Linked DNA regions of Homo sapiens: regions 2, 3, 4 and 5 are each linked to region 1. The links are contacts of gene promoters, found by promoter capture Hi-C in human tissues and cell types (Jung and others, 2019). All regions are on one chromosome and are shown on one strand. Each heading gives the region's core, a stretch centred on a gene start or on the middle of the fragment in contact. The rest is flanking DNA. Distances are from core to core; before and after follow the strand shown.

Evidence for each region. Contacts are between HindIII fragments. The study calls those that stand out against the background at their distance.
Region 2: a fragment that was not itself captured here is called in contact with the fragment with the promoter of SYT1 in region 1 in 1 of the 25 tissues and cell types used here (dorsolateral prefrontal cortex).
Region 3: a fragment that was not itself captured here is called in contact with the fragment with the promoter of SYT1 in region 1 in 3 of the 25 tissues and cell types used here (IMR-90 fibroblasts, dorsolateral prefrontal cortex and hippocampus).
Region 4: a fragment that was not itself captured here is called in contact with the fragment with the promoter of SYT1 in region 1 in 2 of the 25 tissues and cell types used here (dorsolateral prefrontal cortex and mesendoderm cells).
Region 5: a fragment that was not itself captured here is called in contact with the fragment with the promoter of SYT1 in region 1 in 1 of the 25 tissues and cell types used here (dorsolateral prefrontal cortex).

Annotation. Positions count from the first base shown.
Region 1 is chr12:78,863,524-78,867,404 of GRCh38, forward strand. It overlaps SYT1 (synaptotagmin 1), which reads left to right and starts at 1,251. Exons shown (of 11, transcript NM_005639.3): 1 at 1,251-1,586. RefSeq lists a silencer at 35-94. The HindIII fragment of the contact is 3,235 bases long and covers 1-1,615 here.
Region 2 is chr12:78,173,292-78,177,172 of GRCh38, forward strand. It overlaps NAV3 (neuron navigator 3), which reads left to right. Exons shown (of 40, transcript NM_001024383.2): 25 at 2,015-2,136; 26 at 3,148-3,168; 27 at 3,850-3,881. Among named protein-coding and RNA genes, the nearest start is that of LINC02424, 180 kb to the right of the region's middle. The HindIII fragment of the contact is 3,925 bases long and covers 55-3,881 here.
Region 3 is chr12:78,192,528-78,196,408 of GRCh38, forward strand. The region is part of intron 34 of NAV3 (neuron navigator 3); the gene reads left to right. Among named protein-coding and RNA genes, the nearest start is that of LINC02424, 170 kb to the right of the region's middle. The HindIII fragment of the contact is 5,529 bases long and covers 1-3,881 here.
Region 4 is chr12:78,255,302-78,259,182 of GRCh38, forward strand. No RefSeq gene overlaps it. Among named protein-coding and RNA genes, the nearest start is that of LINC02424, 100 kb to the right of the region's middle. The HindIII fragment of the contact is 3,437 bases long and covers 37-3,473 here.
Region 5 is chr12:79,379,637-79,383,517 of GRCh38, forward strand. All of the region lies in intron 9 of SYT1 (synaptotagmin 1), which reads left to right. Among named protein-coding and RNA genes, the nearest start is that of MIR1252, 38 kb to the right of the region's middle. RefSeq lists an enhancer at 1,457-2,055. The HindIII fragment of the contact is 3,813 bases long and covers 1-3,762 here.

The DNA.
Region 1 (3,881 bases), core at 1-2,500:
GATAATGGACGGGCCCCTCTCCCAGCTGGGCTCCGCTCCCGCCCCTAGCCTGGCGCGCGGTCCCTTCCCCCACCCGCTGAGCCTTCCTGTTCGGTATTTCGGTATTACCAAGCTATAAATTGCCTGAGAGCTTAGAGACAATCAGGTCACCACCGCCCTCACAAGAGAAAAGCTTCTTACTTCCGAGCAGAACGGTTCAGCTGGGAAGAGAGGAAGCAGGGAGAGAATCTATGCTTTAGTCGTCACTGCTCTGGCAAGGGGTCGAGAGAGATGGGGGAGGGAGGTGGCAAAAAATAAAAATGAAAAAATAAAAAAGCATCTCCAACAATGTTGCACTTGACCCAAGTGTACAAACTTATTGGTCGCTGCAATGGAAACTCCCAGTGCACTCTCCACGGCCTGGCAGCCGCCGCTGATGGGTGGAGTCGCGCTCCCGGCCCCACCTATGGGACGGAGCTGCTTCTCCCGCATCTCGGCTCCACCGCACCCTTCGCGGGAAGTCCCCAGGCTTCCAGCAAAGCTCAGCTTATCCCGCCCCCGCTTCCAACCCGGAACCCCAGAAGAACAGCATGATGAGCCTCCGGCAGCCAGGTGGGCCACCTCCCCGCGGCTCAGTTTGAGGACACTTGTGCGGAACCCTTTCACATCCCCACCCTACCCAGCTTTCACAACTCCGCCGGGTTAAATGGCCAAAGACAAACTTCTACCTCTCCTGTCCCCGGTCCCAGCTTTTCAAAAACCCACAGCTGGCGAACCCACACACATCGAAACTCCTAGGTCGCTGTTGCAGTCTGGGCATGCTCAGTATCAGGGTAGGTTTTGATTGAGAGTAAAAAAAAAAAAAAAAAAGCTTTGTATTATGCTCTCTTTCTCCTGTGCATACTGCTTGCTGAACAGCTTGTGGGGCATTCCTGAGTCTACCTAGAGGTTTTATCAGACGCCCTTGATTGTGTCTCCTTGGGATCTGTTCCCCTCTTACTTCACCCCCTCCCCCAACCCGCCTCCACCCCGCTTCCCAGGTCCCTGTCCGCTGTGGGGATGGAGAGACACTAACAGAACTGGGATGGGCGATGTTGGCTGAACGGATCCACCTATTATTAGTGCGCGGGGATTGGCTCCTTGGCGCAGCGTACCCGAGGTGGAGCCAATCAGGATGCTGGGGCTCGGAGATGATGGGCGGCCGCCTCCTCACTGGAGGGATTCCTGGAGAAGCTGCAGTGTGGGGATGCTCTAGACCGAGTACTGCCCCCAGTGTCTTTCCACCTCCTCCTGCAGCAGCGGCAGCGGCAGCAGCAGTTAGCAGCGGCAACTTGAGGCTGCACCCCGGGCAAGTCCCCAGGGTGGTGCTCAGCCGAGAGGGGGGCTTGGCGCCCCGAAGGGGTGTGTGTAGGGTGGGGGCGACCACGTGGGACCAGCTGGTGGCCCTGGAAAACCTCCCACACACCCACACCCACACACCCCTTTTGTGTTGCAGGCTGCCCCTCCAAGAGCGGAGGCAGCGAGAGTACGCGTGTGCCTCGCGCCGGTCCACGCGGGGAGAGCACTGGGGACCGAGACCCGGCACCACCTCCCGGTCCGCCCTCCAGGTAAGGAAGCGGGACTGGCGGCGCGGCCACCTCGGCGGTGCCTATCTGCTCGAATCCATCCCAAAGATTTTCTTCTCGATACACTTGGGTTTTAGTGGTGGGAGTCTGAGACCTAGGGAGGGATCCCCGGGTGGCCTATTGTGAGAAATATGAGACTACATGTGCATCTCCTGGAAAAGCACTTTGCACAGCGCCCGTGATTTAGAGCCTGGAGTTGATGTTGGGCATCCCCCATCTTCTTGCTTCCTCTTTCCTTCTCTTGTTCTCTCTCCTCCGTCCCCCACCCCCAATCTCAATCTTTTCTCTCTTTCTCTCCCACACCTCCCCTCTCGCCCTCCTCCCACCCTAAGCACGCACAGCGTTTCTTTCTCCTCCTGGAGAGGATTGCCTTTCTTAGAGGAAAGAGGGGGAGTGAAGAAAGGAGAAAGATTTCTTTCTGTTGGGGAGAGGGATATGGGGGGGGGGGGGAACGTAAACAAGATAGAATACAAGCTCTGCGAAAATCAGAGCACATAAAGCAATTAAACTGAATAAGGGGAGTAGACAACCAGTCCAGCTTGGGCTGTCAGAGAGAGGAAGCGTCAAGTTTGACTTGATTTCCTCCTTGCAAGAGTCTATGTCTCTCACTTGATTCGTTCAAATGGAACAAAAATAAACCGACAATCCAACCCACTTTCAACTGCTTAATTGCTTTTGCTTTTGAGTGCCAACCATCTGACTTTTCCTGTTTCCATCTGTCCTGTGGGGCTAACAATTTGGTATTGCACATCAGTGTTAATATCTGAACTTTGAAAGCTTTCTTGAGTAACAAAAAAAAAAAAACAATTAAAATAGATTATTACTTTCCTGAGGTTTCTTGGTATGGCCTGTTGTTGGGGGATCAAAAAATGTAAAGTTTCAAAACATTTGCAAGGGACAACAATTTTATAGGGAGGCTTGGATTTCTACTTTGAGAAAGCTAATCTTCTAGTTAGCTTTGTGTACATGTTGATATTCACTTTCTCCAGTATTAACCCTTTCGTGAAATAAAGCAACTGTTTAACTTTTGTATGGAAGCTACATTTGTGTAGAATTTTCACTTTATTCTACCTTTGTACTATTTGCATTTTATTGTCTGGATACCAAACTTATGCCTGGCTTTATTTTCTTTTAATAGGACAATATTTAATGGATGTAAACATGATGTTTATACAATTTCAGCACTCCCTTTAGAAGGCACATGGAGGCTCAGTTGGACAAGAATCCTCCTGTACTGGAACTAAGTTTAGAAAGTAATGCTAGAAAGATACCCTAAATTTTAAAAATCCTGAAGGGGAAAACATTTTTGTAACGTCTTGTTAAAAGAAAGAAAAATATATCAAAACACCAACATGCCCCTGGCTGCCTGCATAATAGGTCAAGTAAATGGTACTTGTTGGACAGAGCCTTTACAGCAGCTTCAGCAGTCTCTAATTCCATCATTGGGGATATAAGCTTTCTTTTCTTATTATTCTTCAGGGACAGCTAAGCGATAGTACTGTCAGATGGAAGGAGGTATAGAGAAATGCCTCGTTTGATGTAATAGGAAAGCATTCCAAGTGGGTCTTACCTGAACACAGAGAAATCCACAGATGTTAGTATACAAAACACTTCTTTTTATTTATCAGGGGAAATGCAGAGTCTTACTTTTTTTTGTCTAGAACTCCACTTGATATAAGAAAAGAGAATCTTCTATCTTAACTGTGTCTGACCTTCCACACTAATTTTGTATCTCAGAGAGTATTTTTTCACTACGTACGTTTAATATATAAGTTTACACACCAACTTAGAGAAGAGCTGAATTCATTTGCCATCAGTGTAATGTGTACTATTTTCCAAACCATTTTGCATTTGAGGCAATGATCTCTCCCTAAATAGAATTACCAAGTCACGAAAAACGATTTTCTTTCTAGGGCTTTGACATTTAAATGAAAAAAAAAAAAAAATAGTGTCTCTGTTGAAAGCTAACTCTGGTTTTTAGAGGTGCCACCTTTTGGTTACAAGGACAAAGGGACAATCACTTAATTACCTCACATGTATGTACAACTGAATTAACAAGTTTAGACATGAAAAGATGTACAAAAAGGAAGCCAGCTGCCTTCATGTGAGAAAATTAAGATTTTGTTTTCTCATTTCTCCACTGTCTTAGGAATATGTGAAAATTTAGGCTTGGTTTGTGACATTTATTTTCATGACTCTTTACAAATGTTAATTATAGAAATAACATCTAAAAATATGGATATGAGTAGTTTTTCAAATACTTCTAAAAAATTCAAT
Region 2 (3,881 bases), core at 767-3,266, 690 kb before region 1:
TGAAGGTAACTGATACTTCCAAGGACTACTTTTGACCTAGGATTACTATCTTTTTAAAAATTTAGTATTAAAGAAGTCAAACACAATTTATTAATTCTGGATATAATAAAAATTCTGAAATACTTTAATACTTTGTGCTTTTCTATTTGTGAAAGTTAATTATTAGGAACGAGCTAGCAAATGCTACTTCTTTTTCAAAAAGCTAATGGCCAATCACAGCAAAAATTTAAAGCACTAAGAAATACCTACACATATTCTTCTATTGCCCATTTATATGACTTCCATAATAGTTGATTAAAGGATACCGGATTCCTTTATTGTTGAATTAAAACCTCCTACATGAAAACCTTGATTTAGGTTTAGAAGTTGGTAATGTTTTGGCATGCAAAACCAGTTAATGTTCTCATCATTACTTTTTAAAACAATGTTAAGAGATGAATTCTAGGGATTATAAAAAAAAAAAAGCTGTATGTGTTTCTTCCTATAAAATTTTTCAGCATGATTGCCTCAGTAGAAAAATTAAGGGACTTATTGATATATATGTATATGAAGGTGAGGATACACATATACACACACACATATATATGTAGGTAAATACATATATTACATGTCTATCAATCCATACATACTCATTTATTATACGTTTTGAAAGCAACCAGTTATAGTTTTGTTGCCATGGATCATTTTTACTATTCAGTAAATCAGTCAATTGAAGAGGCTTGATTTTATGGTATTAGTTTTTTGGAAACTGTCAGCTTTATAGTAAATTTTGACATCTTACAACTTCCACTGAGATTTTTTTGCTTGACTAATCTGCCTTGATGCCAATAAGTATATTAACGGAAATGGACTAAAAGCAAATGTGACTTGAAGCACAATTTTGTAAATTTTCTTAGTGTCTCAGTAATACTTAATACTAGTGCATTTTAGGTAGGAAAATTTTCAGTTTGTTTTATTTTAAATAACTATAAATCTTATAGTTGCTTGTATAAAAGAAACAGATACCTTTAACATGATTAAATATCAAATGCTATTCTCTTCAAAATATCTTAACTAAAGAAGCACTGCCTGCTCTTAGAAGTTAAGCAAGGCCATACCATATGCTGCGTACATGGCTTTTAACACAATGGATATTAGAAACAGCCTAAGGCTGAGACTGGCTCCACTATTTTTCAGCTATGTGACCATGTGAAAGTTACATTTAGTAATTAAACTCATTTCAGTAGTTTGCTTTAAGAATAAAATTAGGTACTCCGGGGGCATATCAAGCATATTGTAAAACCTAGTTTGATTATTATTTGTTATTGGTATTACTATTACTATTCTATAATAAGTCATGGGCAGGCAGTAGGGGTACATTGGAAGAATTGCACTGTCTTAAATATGTCCTCTGTTTAACTCACAAACTCAGTCTACCTAGGCTTTCTTTGGAGGATCTGCCTTTCATTGGCTGTTTGACTTTGGCCAAGTTACTTAACTTCTTTTCACTTCAGTTTCCTCATCTGTGAGATTATGTGCTTACATGACTTCAGGTTTTGTTTTGGCTCTAATATGGTATGATTCTATGAAATGGAAAGTTAATACATTTGGCTCTAGTAACTGTATTTGAAGCACAAATATTAAAAAGCACAATTAATTCTCATTCTGAGTTTCCATTTACTCTTTTAAATTAATCATTCAGAATAAATCATTTTGGAAGAGCTGCTTGATCCAGGTATTCAGTAGAAATCACTAGCATAGCATTTAATTTTAGACAAAACTGAGAACTCATTAAACTGCCAGGGCTATGGACTTATATGAGATTCTCATTAAATCTTAATGTAGATAACTCAGTTAATTAAAACAAATATGGTTGTACTTTATTAAACTTCTAAAGTCAAAACTGCATTGAAATTATCTGTACAAAGCCTTGTTGACCTTTATTAGAGAACTGCCTCTCAAAAGACCTAAAAGACTTATTTGTTCAGATCGAGACTCTTCATGAGCCGATGTGATACTCTCCCTCTATTGCTAGATCTTCGCATCAGAAGACAGCATTCCTCTGAAAGTGTTTCTAGTATCAACAGTGCCACAAGCCATTCCAGTATTGGCAGTGGTAATGATGCCGACTCCAAGAAGAAGAAAAAGAAAAACTGGGTAAGTTACCATCCTTCATCTAATTCAGAAGCTTATTAATGCATAATGTGTTAGGCCTTTTTCTTTGGGGCTTTAGTGATCTGCAGTAGTTTACAAAGGGTCCCATTCAAGCTACTGAGACCTCAAATGCTGCACTCATCACCAAAATTGGAGTGGCATGTACTGAAAAGCATACATTTTAATGTTGGGACTAAACTTGGGTTTGAATCACCACTATATCTAGACCTTTTGAGGGGCCTGAATTTTCTAACCAATAAAAAGACAGTTAATAGCAACTATATTTATTTGTGAATATCATTTATTCACAGATGTTATCTAATTTTTCTATAGTATAACTATACAAACTATGTAGTATAACTATAGAGTTATACTAAAGAAAAATAAGATAACATCTGTGAATAAATGGCTTAAAATAGGGGTTTATTGTGGGCATAGAGATGAAGGAAAAGTGAAAAAATGATGATGATGGTGATGATGATGGTGATAGTGGTCTTGGAGGAAAAGGAGAATGGGAGTTAATAAAGGGAAAGAATAAACAATGAAACTCTCATTCCACCTTTGGAATCGACAGGGCTTACCGTGTGAATAGTTTCACCCTAAAAGAAATCAACCACATTAGTGTCTGCTTGATGTTTTTAACCAAGAGAATATAGCAGAAATATAGAAATGCACTTTAACAGAACTGTACCTTAAGTTTGCTAGTGATATAATTTATGATATTGATCAATAGCTAAATAGCCCAGGGGAAGATACTGTTACTGCGAAAAATTTAAAAACAATGGAGTCAATGATTTCTTTTAATACCAAAAAAAAAATGTAGATTTTGAGTAAATACAACTCTTGATGAAATCCAGACATAATTATCAGAGGATTTTACTGGAGTGCTTTCTACAAATAATGAAAGAAATATCTTTTTATCTTAAAAAATGTTTATACAGGTAATATTTTAAAATACTGATCAGCCTTCATTCCCTTGATTTGTAATTCCACACTCTTTCATGTTTCTGCAAGGTGAACTCTAGAGGAAGTGAGGTGAATATAAACCGTGGACAATTTGGCATGCATCTATAAAAAAACCCTACCTTGGCATGAATGCTATCCATTTTGGCAGTAGGCTTTTATACCTTTTAAAACAGATTACCTTGTATGTCTTTTCTTTGTGTCTTTTCATTTTAATCTCAAATTTTAAAGAGATGTAAAACCACTTTCTGAATAGAGCTGTAGGGGATACCAATTCTGGTTTTGAGTAGTCTGGGGTTGGAAAATTTGAATAGAAAAATCACAATTAATGAAGTGTTAGGTGAATTTGATTTCATTTTGCTTTTTAAGTTTGTACTGTCAGCAGGACATGACTTGATTGTAGCGCTAAAGTGGCCATTTAAAACAAATTGCCTTGAAGAGAGAAGCATTGGGAATGGAGATCCCTTCAAGGTACTTAGTTTTAAATGAGTGCTCTGACAGCCATGCCCTTGACCTTGCACTATTTAAAAGCCTTCCATGTTTGCGCTGCGCTGGATTAATACAAGAATAAAATGAACACACAAAACACGGTATCATTTTTTTTTTAGAGATACTGTGCTGCAATTGTTAATACTCTGCTTGTACATACTGACCCCAGGCAGTGGCTAGGATGGCATCTGCAAACTAACGCCCCAAAGCAAAAGCTCTCCAAGTGCAAATAGACAAGAAGGGTAATTTCTGTCCTTGTTTCAGCTGAGAAGTTCTTTCAAACAAGCCTTTGGGAA
Region 3 (3,881 bases), core at 801-3,300, 670 kb before region 1:
CCTGAGTAGCTGAGACTACAGGTGCCCACCACCACACCCAGCTAATTTTTTTAATTTTTATTTTTAGTAGAGACGGGGTTTCACTGTGTTAGCAGGATGGTCTCAATCCCCTGACCTCGTGATCCACCTGCCTCGGCCTCCCAAAATGCTGGGATTACAGGCATGAGCCACTGTGCCCAGCCCAGAAAGAAACTCTTGAACAAATCACAATAGCATTCATTCCCAAGAAAACACAAATTATAACTAAAAAATATTTATTTTTTATGTTATTCCTTATGGTTTGAAGATATGAACAAGCTATCAGTAATGCTGAATACAAACTCGTTGCCAGAAAATTTGGACAATTTTTGCCAAATTGACAGAGAATACCCACTATTTTCCTGGGAGTTGGGGGTGAGGGTAAGTGAGGATAAATATAAAAAAAGAGGGGATGACAAGTTGAGATTGTGTTAGGGATACCAACAGTGTAGATTTACTGAAGTAACATGATAATGAGGCATGAAATAATAAATCCTGTTCCTGAAAACCTGGAGCTGTGTAAATGCTGACGCATTTTATGCTGTGCCATAGATAGCACTGAAGAGACAAATCCAAAAAGCACTTACTGATTCAGAAAAAAAGAAGAAACTCAAACCACAAATCATCAAATGAAAAACATCTTTTCATGTTTTCAGTACCTCTGCACTTTACATTCTGTTCCTCTTCCCACACTTCAAGCCCTCCCTCAAGCTGCCAGCTGGAATATTTTGATTGAGAGCAGTACACATAAACAATTACACTTTGTGACATTCGATATAGTAGGCCCAGAGGGCTAGAGGTGGATTTAGTAGAGAATACATGGTCAGCTGAAGCCATTTGGAATGTTAGGCTGGAAAAGATCAGAAAACTGTACCTGATAGATTCCTTTTTAGTGTGTCTGGAGTCAGCATCTGAGAAAGCAGTGATCTACCATTTTTATGTAACTGTGGTGTTCCACCTGTAGTTTCAGAGTATGGGATTCATCTCATTGCCAACTCCCATCTGGTAGATATGCCTGTTTCCTTCTACCTGACTAGATCTGGAAAAAAGACTTTTAATGCCGGTGCATCAGTGCCTCAATCTAAGATTTCATTTTCATCAAGCTAGAGTGGGTATCATGAAGTTATTTCAAGGGAATCTGTGAAAAACTCCTCTAAGTTATAGGAAAAAAGTTTATTTATGTTTGCCTGTTTCTACATCCATTGCTTTATACCTACCATCAGATTCCCAGGGGATCCACTACCCTCTCAAGATGAAAGAAAGCCACATTATAATTAGAACCTAAAGGCTCTGATTGTCCAAAAATGACCCAGTGACCTGCTAATTACAAAACTCAATTCCTTTGTGCCTCCCCACTCTCTCTCTCTCTTTCTGACATTCATGTTATCATTTTCTCCTTGTTTCCTGCTCCCTGGTAAATTGCTTTTCAGTTTTTTTCTCTCTGCTCTTCCTTCACTTCCCAGTAAATGAAACTGTTTTTCTTTATAATGAACTATTCTGTTCTCTCTCACTTTTATTCTCCTTTGGATGACTCTTGTGGCTTCAACTTGGCTTGACTTGTGTGGTTGACTTCAATTAAACACTATCAGCCATGCCCATTCTCCCAAATTTGTAAGCTTTCTATCATCCTACACATATGTTTCTATTCACCTACTAAATATACCTGTTGAGAATTGACAATTTCAGCCCCAAACACATATTATAAGTTTATCCTCTTCCATTGCTTTCCAACAAAACCACCCTCCACCCCAGATTAACATCCTCCTCTGTTGTTTCTTGGATTTCTACAATTATTTTTTAACTACTTGATACACGATTTCCTTTAAATTTCCCTTCTCTCTTTTTTTGGGATATATTCATTCACCTCATGGAACATAGAATATCTTTTCATAATTAAAATCTGATCAAATTTTTCAATGTTTTCTTATAGATTTCTGTACTACATCAAAAACATCACGTTGTTCCTTGTTCAGTCCCTTAGTATCTCTAGGCTTCAATAATTTCAACATTCTCTTGGCTGGTCTTGCTTCTTCCTTTCAATATGCTCACCACATGTTAAATCACCATTGTGACTACTTACTCAGGTCACCAGAAGAATGTTTCTTCACTGCCAAAAGGAGATGTCCAGCGATCTTACTAATCATTTAAGGTTGCAGTTTCCTTTACAATTTCATTACCACCATTTCCTTTCACAAAACACATATTCTTAGCTTTTTTCCTACATGGATATCATATTTTCGTGTTTCTGACTGGTTATTCTTCTCTATTTGGAAAGCTCTTCTGTTGTGTTTAAGCATCAAGGTATTACCCAATCTTTAAAATAAGGGAATAATAGCAAATCATACTGCCACCACAGTACATTTTCCAGACGCTACAATCAATCTTTACATACTATAAACAAAATCTTTGATCTATACTTTTTTGAAGTAGTGTATTATTTTGACTGTGAATTATTGTTATATATGTATATGCCTGACCTTCTATTCCAGGAAGGTAATAAGCTTCTTAAATGCTATTTCCTTTTCTAATTAATTCTTCTATCTTTCACATTTCTGTTTCCTTGGATAAATAAATTGCTTTCCTCTACTGAAAACAAAGAAGCAAACAAACATATCAATGTTCCACACTTCTTTATATAATAAAATGCAACTTCTTCTGCATGGATTCAAAGTCTTTTTTTCTTTTTTATTGCCACCACCAGTAGCATGTACTATATTTTTCTATAACCACAGAACACTTATTTCCCAAAACACATCATACACTTACACTTTTCAGGTTTCACTTTTTATTCTTTAGATTTCAATCCTTTTTATTATTATTATTATTATTTGCTTTTTTTTCCCTTTTAACCACTGTACTCTGTTTTTCTGTGAACCTTAAGTCTGGATTAGATGCCTCTCTTATGTCTCCCTATAATGTTTTGTGCATTTCACTTAGCACACTGTATTGTGAATCACTTGCTCACCAGCTTCTCTGCTTATCAACTCTAAGTTTCTGAAAGACAGAAATTATGTTTTATCTCTAAATCCCTGGTGCCAGCAGGATGTGCCAGTTGGAATTAATCTCTTTCCCTCCTATAGGCCACATGCCTCCTTTATCCTCTCTCATGGAATGTTTTACCTTGCATTTTGTAAATTCATCATTATTTACATGTGTGCCTACCACCCCACTCAGGCTCCAGTGTTACCTCCTCCAGAAAACCATTCTTGACACCCAGCAGCTAGGCTAAATCTCTTCCCTTGACTTCTCATATCTCATAATATATTTATGATATTATATTGATATCATTTGTAACATTTAAATTCCAGTCCCTAATGTGACAACTCTTAGAGCTTGCAGGGGAAACCAGCCTGATTACCCTTTTTAGTCCTCATGTCCGGAAAAGTACTTGATGCAGTTCATAATAAATGTTAAACCTACTTAAACTCCATTGATAGCAGGAATCAGACTTCACTATTTTTGTATACCCAGGGCTTGGTCTAAGGCTATGAACGCAGTAGATAGACAGTGCATATTTTATAAACGAATGAATGACTTAATGTAGCTAAATTAGTGACATAAATTTTATTTTTTCTTTTGAAGTAAATAGAATTCTCCAGAATATTCAACAGTTTTAAACATATTTTTTTCTGCATTCTCTGACTTAGGCAAGATTTATTTTATGTGATTAGCTCAATAGAAAACAAATAGTACTTTATTTCCTTAATACATTTTTATATTTGAACATAAATAAAAATTACTAAATGCCTCAAAATCCTGGCCCGTTGTTTTATCTCCTACTTTTATTTCCAGCAGTGGTGTTACAGACAGAGAGAGGTTGCATCTAGAGTGAGCAATTCACATATTTACCTGGCTGCCAGAAA
Region 4 (3,881 bases), core at 505-3,004, 610 kb before region 1:
CAGGTTGTTCAGTTTCCATGTAGTTGAGCGGTTCTGAGAGAGTTTCTTAGTCCTGAGTTCTAGTTTGATTGCACTGTGGTCTGAGAGACAGTTTGTTATAATTTCTGTTCTTTTACATTTGCTGAGGAGTGCTTTACTTCCAACTATGTGGTCAATTTTGGAACAGGTGTGGTGCTGAAAAGAATGTATCTTCTGTTGATTTGGGGTGGAGAGTTCTGTAGATGTTTATTGGGTCTGCTTGGTACAGAGCTGAGTTCAATTCCCGGATATCCTTGTTGACTTTCTGTCTCATCGATCTGTCTAATGTTGACAGTGGGGTGTTAAAGTCTCCCATTATTAATGTGTGGGAGTCTAAGTCTCTTTGTAGGTCACTCAGGACTTGCTTTATGAATCTGGGTGCTCCTGTATTGGGTGCATATATATTTAGGATAGTTAGCTCTTCTTGTTGAATTGATCCCTTTACCATTATGTAATGGCCTTCTTTGTCTCTTTTGATCTTTGTTGGTTTAAAGTCTGTTTTATCAGAGACTAGGATTGCAACCCCTGCCTTTTTTTGTTTTCCATTTGCTTGGTAGATCTTCCTCCATCCCTTTATTTTGATCCTATGTGTGTCTCTGCATGTGAGATGGGTTTCCTGAATACAGCACACTGATGGGTCTTGACTCTTTATCCAATTTGCCAGTCTGTGTCTTTTAATTGGAGCATTTAGCCCTTTTACATTTAAGGTTAATATTGTTATGTGTGAATTTGATCCTGTCATTATGATGTTAGCTGGTTATTTTGCTCGTTAGTTGGTGTAGTTTCGTCCTAGCCTCGATGGTCTTTACAATTTGGCATGTTTTTGCAGTGGCTGGTACCAGTTGTTCCTTTCCATGTTTAGTCCTTCCTTCAGGAGCTCTTTCAGGGCAGGCCTGGTGGTGACAAAATCTCTCAGCATTTGTTTTTCTGTAAAGGATTTTATTTCTCCTTCACTTATGAAGCTTACTTTGGTTGGATGTGAAATTCTTGGTTGAAATTTTTTTTTTTTTTTTTTTTTTGAGACAGAGTCTTGCTCTGTCACCCAGGCTAGAGTGCAGTGGTGTGATCTCGGCTCACTGCCAGCTCCACCTCCTGGGATCACGACATTCTCCTGCCTCAGCCTCCCAAAAAGTTATTTTCTTTAAGAATGTTGACTATTGGCCCCCACTCTCTTCTAGCTTGTAGAGTTTCTGAGGAGAGATCAGCTGTTAGTCTGATGGGCTTCCCTTTGTGGGTAACCCGACCTTTCTCTCTGGCTGCCCTTAACATTTTTTCCTTCATTTCAACTTTGGTGAATCTGACAATTATGTGTCTTGGAGCTGCTCTTCTCAAGGAATATGTTTGTGGCGTTCTCTGTATTTCCTTAATTTGAATTTTGGCCTGCCTTGCTAGGTTGGGGAAGTTCTCCTGGATAATATCCTGCAGAGTGTCTTCCAACTTGGTTCCATTCTCCCCGTCACTTTCAGGTACACCAATCAGACATAGATTTGGTCTTTTCACATAGTCCCATATTTCTTGGAGGCTTTGTTCGTTTTTTATTCTTTTTTCCCTAAACTTCTCTTCTTGCTTCATTTCATTCATTTGATCTTCAATCACTGATAACCTTTCTTCCAGTTGATCAAATTGGCTACTGAAGCTTGTGCATGTGTCATGTAGTTCTTGTGCCGTAGTTTTTAGCTCCATCAGGTCATTTAAGGTCTTCTCTATGATGTTTACTCTAGTTAGCCATTTGTCTAATCTTTTTTCAAGGTTTTTAGCTTCTTTGCTATCGGTTCAAACATCCTCCTTTAGCTCAGAGAAGTTTGTTATTACTGATCTTCTGAGGCCTACTTCTGTCAACTTGTCAAAGTCATTCGCCATCCAGCTTTGTTCTGTTGCTGGCGAGGAGCTGCATTCCTTTGTAGGAGAAGAGGAGCTCTGATTTTTGGAATTTTCAGCTTTTCTGCTCTCGTTTCTCCCCATATTTGTGGTTTTATCTACCTTTTGGTCTTTGATGATGGTGACCTAGAGATGGGGTTTTGGTGTGGATGTCCTTTATGTTTATTAGTTTTCCTTCTAACAGTCAGGACCCTCAGCTGCAGGTGGGTTGGAGTTTGCTGTAGGCCCACTCCAGACCCTGTTTGCCTGGGTATCACCAGCGGAGGCTGCAGAACAGCAAATGTTGCTGCCTGATCCTTCCTCTGGAAGCTTCGTCTCAGGCGGGCACCTGGATTATGAGGTGTCATTTGGCCCTTACTGGGAGGTTTCTCCCAGTTAGGCTACTCAGGGGTCAGAGACCCACTTAAGGAGGCAGTGTCTCTGTTCTCAGAGCTCAAACACCGTGCTGGGAGAACCACTGCTCTCTTCAGAGCTCTCAGACAGGGATGTTTAAGTCTGCAAAAGTTTCTGCTGCCTTTTGTTCAGCTATGCCCTTCCCCCAGAGGTGGAGTCTACAGAGGCAGGCAGGCCTCCTTGAGCTGTGGTGGGCTCCACCCTGTTCGAGCTTTGTGGCCGCTTGGTTTACCCACTCAAACCTCAGCAATGATGGACGCCCCTCCCCCAGCCTCACTGCTGCCTTGCAGTTCAATCTTGGACTGCTGTCCTAGCAGTGAGCAAGGCTCCATGGGTGCGGGCCCCTCTGAGCCAGGCACAGGATATAATTTCCTGGTGTGCCGTTTGTTAAGACCACTGGGAAAGTGCAGTATTAGGGTGGGAGTGTCCCGATTTTCCAGGTACCGTCTGTCACAGCTTCCCTTGCCTAGGAAAAGGAACTCCCTGACCCTTTGTGCTTCCCGGGTAAGGCAATGCCCTGCCCTGCTTTGGCTCACACTACGTGGGCTGCACCCACTGTCCAACAAGCCCCAGTGAGATGACCTGGTACCTCAGTTGGAAATGTAGAAGTCATGCGTCTTCTGTGTCGCTGGGAGCTGTAGACTGGAGCTATTCCTATTCAGCCATCTTGGAACCCCGAGAACAACATAATTATTTTCAATGCAGCAATAGTAAGTCATAGAGGGTTAGAGAGCAGAGCTAGTCAAACTAAAGTCATAAGTATCTTTCCCAAGGGAGTCATATTTATTTCTATAGCCACAATCTAATGGTGCCTCTGGCCATTTCTCGGATACAGCTACAGGTCCAGTAACCACACAGGGAGCTGGATTAGTGTGTGTACAACTTTTCATGACCAATGAGAAGTGACAGGGCATACTGCCCATGATTGACTGCATATGTGTGTGCACAAAAACACCTGTATCCTAGACATGCCAATCAGTTCACCTGCTACAATTCACATTTTCTTTTTGCTTATCCTCCCTGACCACAGCCAAAGACATTTGCTTCAAGATACTCCCTGCTCCACCTCCCCAACAAATCTTGCCTCAAGTTGATTAGGCCATTAGTGGCACCTAATAGAAGCCAAAGCCTCCAAAGACCAGACTAAGTCAATTAGATTATCCATTTTAACAACAGAGACATGTGTATGTTTATGTAATATCCAGATTTGAAGTCACGTATATTTTAGGTCTGTAAAAAAAAAAAAAACTTATGAGTAGTCAAAAGAGACTGATGGAAGAATGATGCAGTTATACCAAGTGATTTAAACACAGTTGTAAGAATTTAATGCTGATAGCAGCACTTGTCTAACTATTTTCTCCTTGTTCTTTAGATTTCAACCTCACCATCCCTTCTCCTATGAAGCCTTTACTATTCTCTAAAAATTAGTTGGGTTCTGCATTTAATATGTCACCTGTGTTCAATTTTACTATTTCAAAAGTTTTTAGATAATTGGTTTAATGTTAATGTCTATGCTCTTCCCTAAACTGTAAATGCCAAAAGGGCAGAGACAATTTCTCATCTATTTTATGCTGCTTAGACAGTGCCTAGCA
Region 5 (3,881 bases), core at 606-3,105, 520 kb after region 1:
CATTTTGTCTTTTGCCTCTTCATGTAGTAATCGTGTATATGTTTATATACTGAAGAATCAATCATCCAATAGAAATCTAGCTTTGATAACTATGTTTACTAAGAGGATACTAAAATTACCCATAAGGTAATTTAAGGGAATTCATTACCCAAATAAAAGACTATGAGCATAAAAAACTATAGATATTGCTGAGAGTTTACTTACTGTGCTTAATACTTCACATGTACTATTACGACTAATTTGCCTTCTTGAAAAGATGAGGAAACAAGCCTAAGGAAATTAAATAATTTGCTGAAGGTTACACCCGAGAGCAAGCAACTGAACCAATCATCTAACCCAGGCCTTCTAACTCCATTTGGGTCATCTTTTCTGATTTGTGGCTCTAAAACCCCCTTTCCAGAAACAATCTGACATTTTTAGAAACCTTCTTTTAGAATTGACGTATTTTACTGAAAAAGATTCCATTTCTTTTGAAGATTAACCAGAGATTTTAAAGCTAATCTTGGCTTTTCTTTCAACATTTCTTCACCACTGCCACCCCCACCAAAAAATAAGAGAAAATGCAGTTTCTGTCATTTAGATATTTTGAGAAAATATTAACTGCAGAAACAAATTAGCATGCTCTGAAAAACAAGTCCCAGAGTTTAGAGAGACTCTGACAAAGATGCAATTTGAGTGTGTTCCTCAAGCACATTCATTGCCATTTATACCTTATTCACAATCAGCAAATCTGGCTGTGCCTGGGATGAAGAATTTTTTGTTTATTTATTTTAGAGACAGAACTTTGCTCTGCCACCCAGGCTGCTGCATCCTAGGTGATGTAGCCTGCTACATGATCATAGCTCACTGAAGCCTCGAAACTCCCCTCTTGCCTCAGCCTCCCAAGTAGTCGGGACTACAGATACACACCACCCTGCTCTGCTAATTTTTTTAATACATGGGGGTCTCACTATATTGCCCAGGCTGGTCTCAAACTCCTGGCCTCAAGCAATCCTTCCACCTCAGCCTTCCAGGTATCTGGGATTGCTGGCATGAGCCATCATGCCCAGCTAAACAAGTTCTTCCCTAAAAGTGAAGAGGGCTTGTTTAAAAGGACTGTAATAAGCTTCCCTTGCAATTCCCCAAGTGGACTTTGCAAAATGTCCTCCTCCCCTCAATTCTTCCACCTCCTAGAAACACCTATTCATGCCTTCTTCCTTCCTGGAAGCCCTAGGAGTTTCCTGGGGTTCCTTGAGCTATGGCAACCCCATATGTATGATTCCAAATTTAGACAGAGGAGTGTAACCTGTGTCCTAGTGTGCAAGCCCAGGAAAGAGAATTAGCACCAATATGTGATACTAAACACTTGACAATCTTTCCCTCATTTAATTCCTACGACAAAACTAGGTAATACTGTCATTATCAACAATTTGCAGATAGGGCTTAGAGACTCTGAAATCTGAAGTCCATGCCTTTGGCTACTCCACCATAATTTCTCCTAGGATTTAGTAGTTTTTATTCCTTGAAACATTGGCAACGAATGGCCTACTATATTATTATGCTGAATTCCCTGATTCCTACTTTAAAACACAACCATTTCCATTTTCGAAAGATTATAGATCCATCTCTTGCTTGCCTGAAAGTAACACATTCTTTCTTCAAAGGTAAAACTGTACACCTAAACTTTGTAAAACTCTGTAGTTGAGACTGTCTCAAGTTCCTGTTGAATCAGATAATTGTTATCAGATCCCCTTGAAAAAGATAAAAGGACCACCACTGTTACAAAGTACAGAGCAACAAAAGCCAAGGCCCAGTTAACAGCACTTCATTGAAATGCAAGAGGCATCTCTGTGTACTTACTTCCCATCTTAGACACAGGAGAGCAGGGGGTTTGAAGGATTTGAATTCTGAATTTCTGTTAGAATAACATCTGCCAAGAATAAGCCCTGAATGTACTACTTTTACCTGTAGAGAAAAATGAGCTTATCACTCAGGTCTTTGTCGAGATAATACCTACACCTGTTGTCAGGCTAAAGATTTAGATAGTCCTGGATGAAATTCCAGGTCTGCTGTGTGAGTGTTAGGGAGCATGGTTGAGCTACAAATTGCGTGGAAGCAAGCTGATTTTAAGTTGCCATGGCAAAGAAAATGCAGAGAATGAGCAGCTTTTACATTAATGTTTTCTACATCTTGTTAGGATAGGATTGTCCAGCTGAGGGGTGCTTTTTTTGTGCTTCTACTGACATGAACAGATAAAATAATAAACACTAATTATAGAGTATTATAATGATTTCTGGGCTTGCCTCAGAGGGGCGTCTATCTGGCTAGGTAATTACTTCCCTGACAGATAGGTTTTTACGTGAGAATGGAGCATGATGAGCCTAGTTTATTGCCTGCTGATGAGACCACGGGGGAGGAAGGTCATGCGGTATGCTTATTAAGACCATTTTAGTCAACGTGTTTTTCAATCAGTCGTCAGGGTACCCACCCCTGGTTAAAGAAACGCTACAGATGAAAATGACACAGTGATTCTCAGTCGTGCGAGTCTGTTGCTTTAGGGAAGTGACTAAATGGTAAGAGACTTCTCAGGTTGAAGTGGAAGGCATTTCTTGAAAATATGATGCCTTTGCCTATAATGCTCTAAAGTTGATCCCTAGTGTGAAAGAGAGTGCTGCTTTCTGTATGATACTTCATTCCCTGAAAGACTATTTTCCCCAGCTAAGTCAGATTCAAGTTCCTACACAATTCTGGATAATGTTTAGGAGGTATCCTGACTTCAAGGAATTTATATTCAAAAATACACAAACACATGCACTCTTCTCCCTTCTCCCGTAACCTAATTGAGTTTGCCAGGAAAAAGGGGCAATGATTTTTTCCCCTTGTTATTTACTAATAGATAATAAAGAATATATACTAGGGGTAAAAAAGACAGAAAATCAGAGAGTCCAGAGAGGAAAGGAAGTTAAAAAAAAGAAAAGAAAAACTAAATGAAGCTTTTACAAAAATGCGATAGTGTACACGTACTGCCCTTCTTGAAATGATCCATCTTATTAAATGATGTGGTTTCAGTGCTTACCTCTTAGTCCTGCTACACCTATGGGAATTTGGAAGAAAGCTAGGTTTTTCACTTTTTAAATGATGGCAAATGTTACGTGCTCCAAACGCTGAGTAGAGATTCTTGGATTGTGATGAAATATAAAAATATAGTGCAGTCCCCACTTTGAATTACTAAACAAACTCAAATATTGTAAAAAGGCAGGCATTTCTTGACTGCTCATACAACATAAACTTTTCTCCCAAGTAGTCTGTGTCGTGTGTGAAACTGTAGATAATAAATCTAGGCTTGTTTGCCATGTCTTCTATGAATGCTCGAAGGAAGTTTATCCACACCTAAACGTAACTGTTGAAATATTTATTGGCATGACATGCTAATAGAGGCCTTATAGTGCTTTGTGGAACAGACACATATACAGTCACGTGGGATACAGGTATGTTTTGAGAAATGCACAGTTAGGCAATTTCATCATTGTTGTGTGAACTTCATAGAGTGTATTTGCACAAACCTAGGTGTTGTAGCCTGCTACATACCTAAGCTATAGGGTATAGCCTATTGCTCCAAGGCTACAAACCTTTAGAGAATATTATTGTACTGAATATTGTAAGCAGTGGAAACACAAAGGTAAGTAAGTATTTGTGTATCTAAAGATAGAAAAGGTACATTTAAAACACATCATTATAATCTTACAGGACCACCATAGAACATGTGGTTCATCCTTGACCAAAACATTCTTGTATTTCCACTTCCTCCCTAACTATGAATATTTTCATGCTGTTCAATATGGTACAATGGCAAAATAAGTTTATATAGTATAGATGGCTATTCAAGATATAGTTATTTAAAT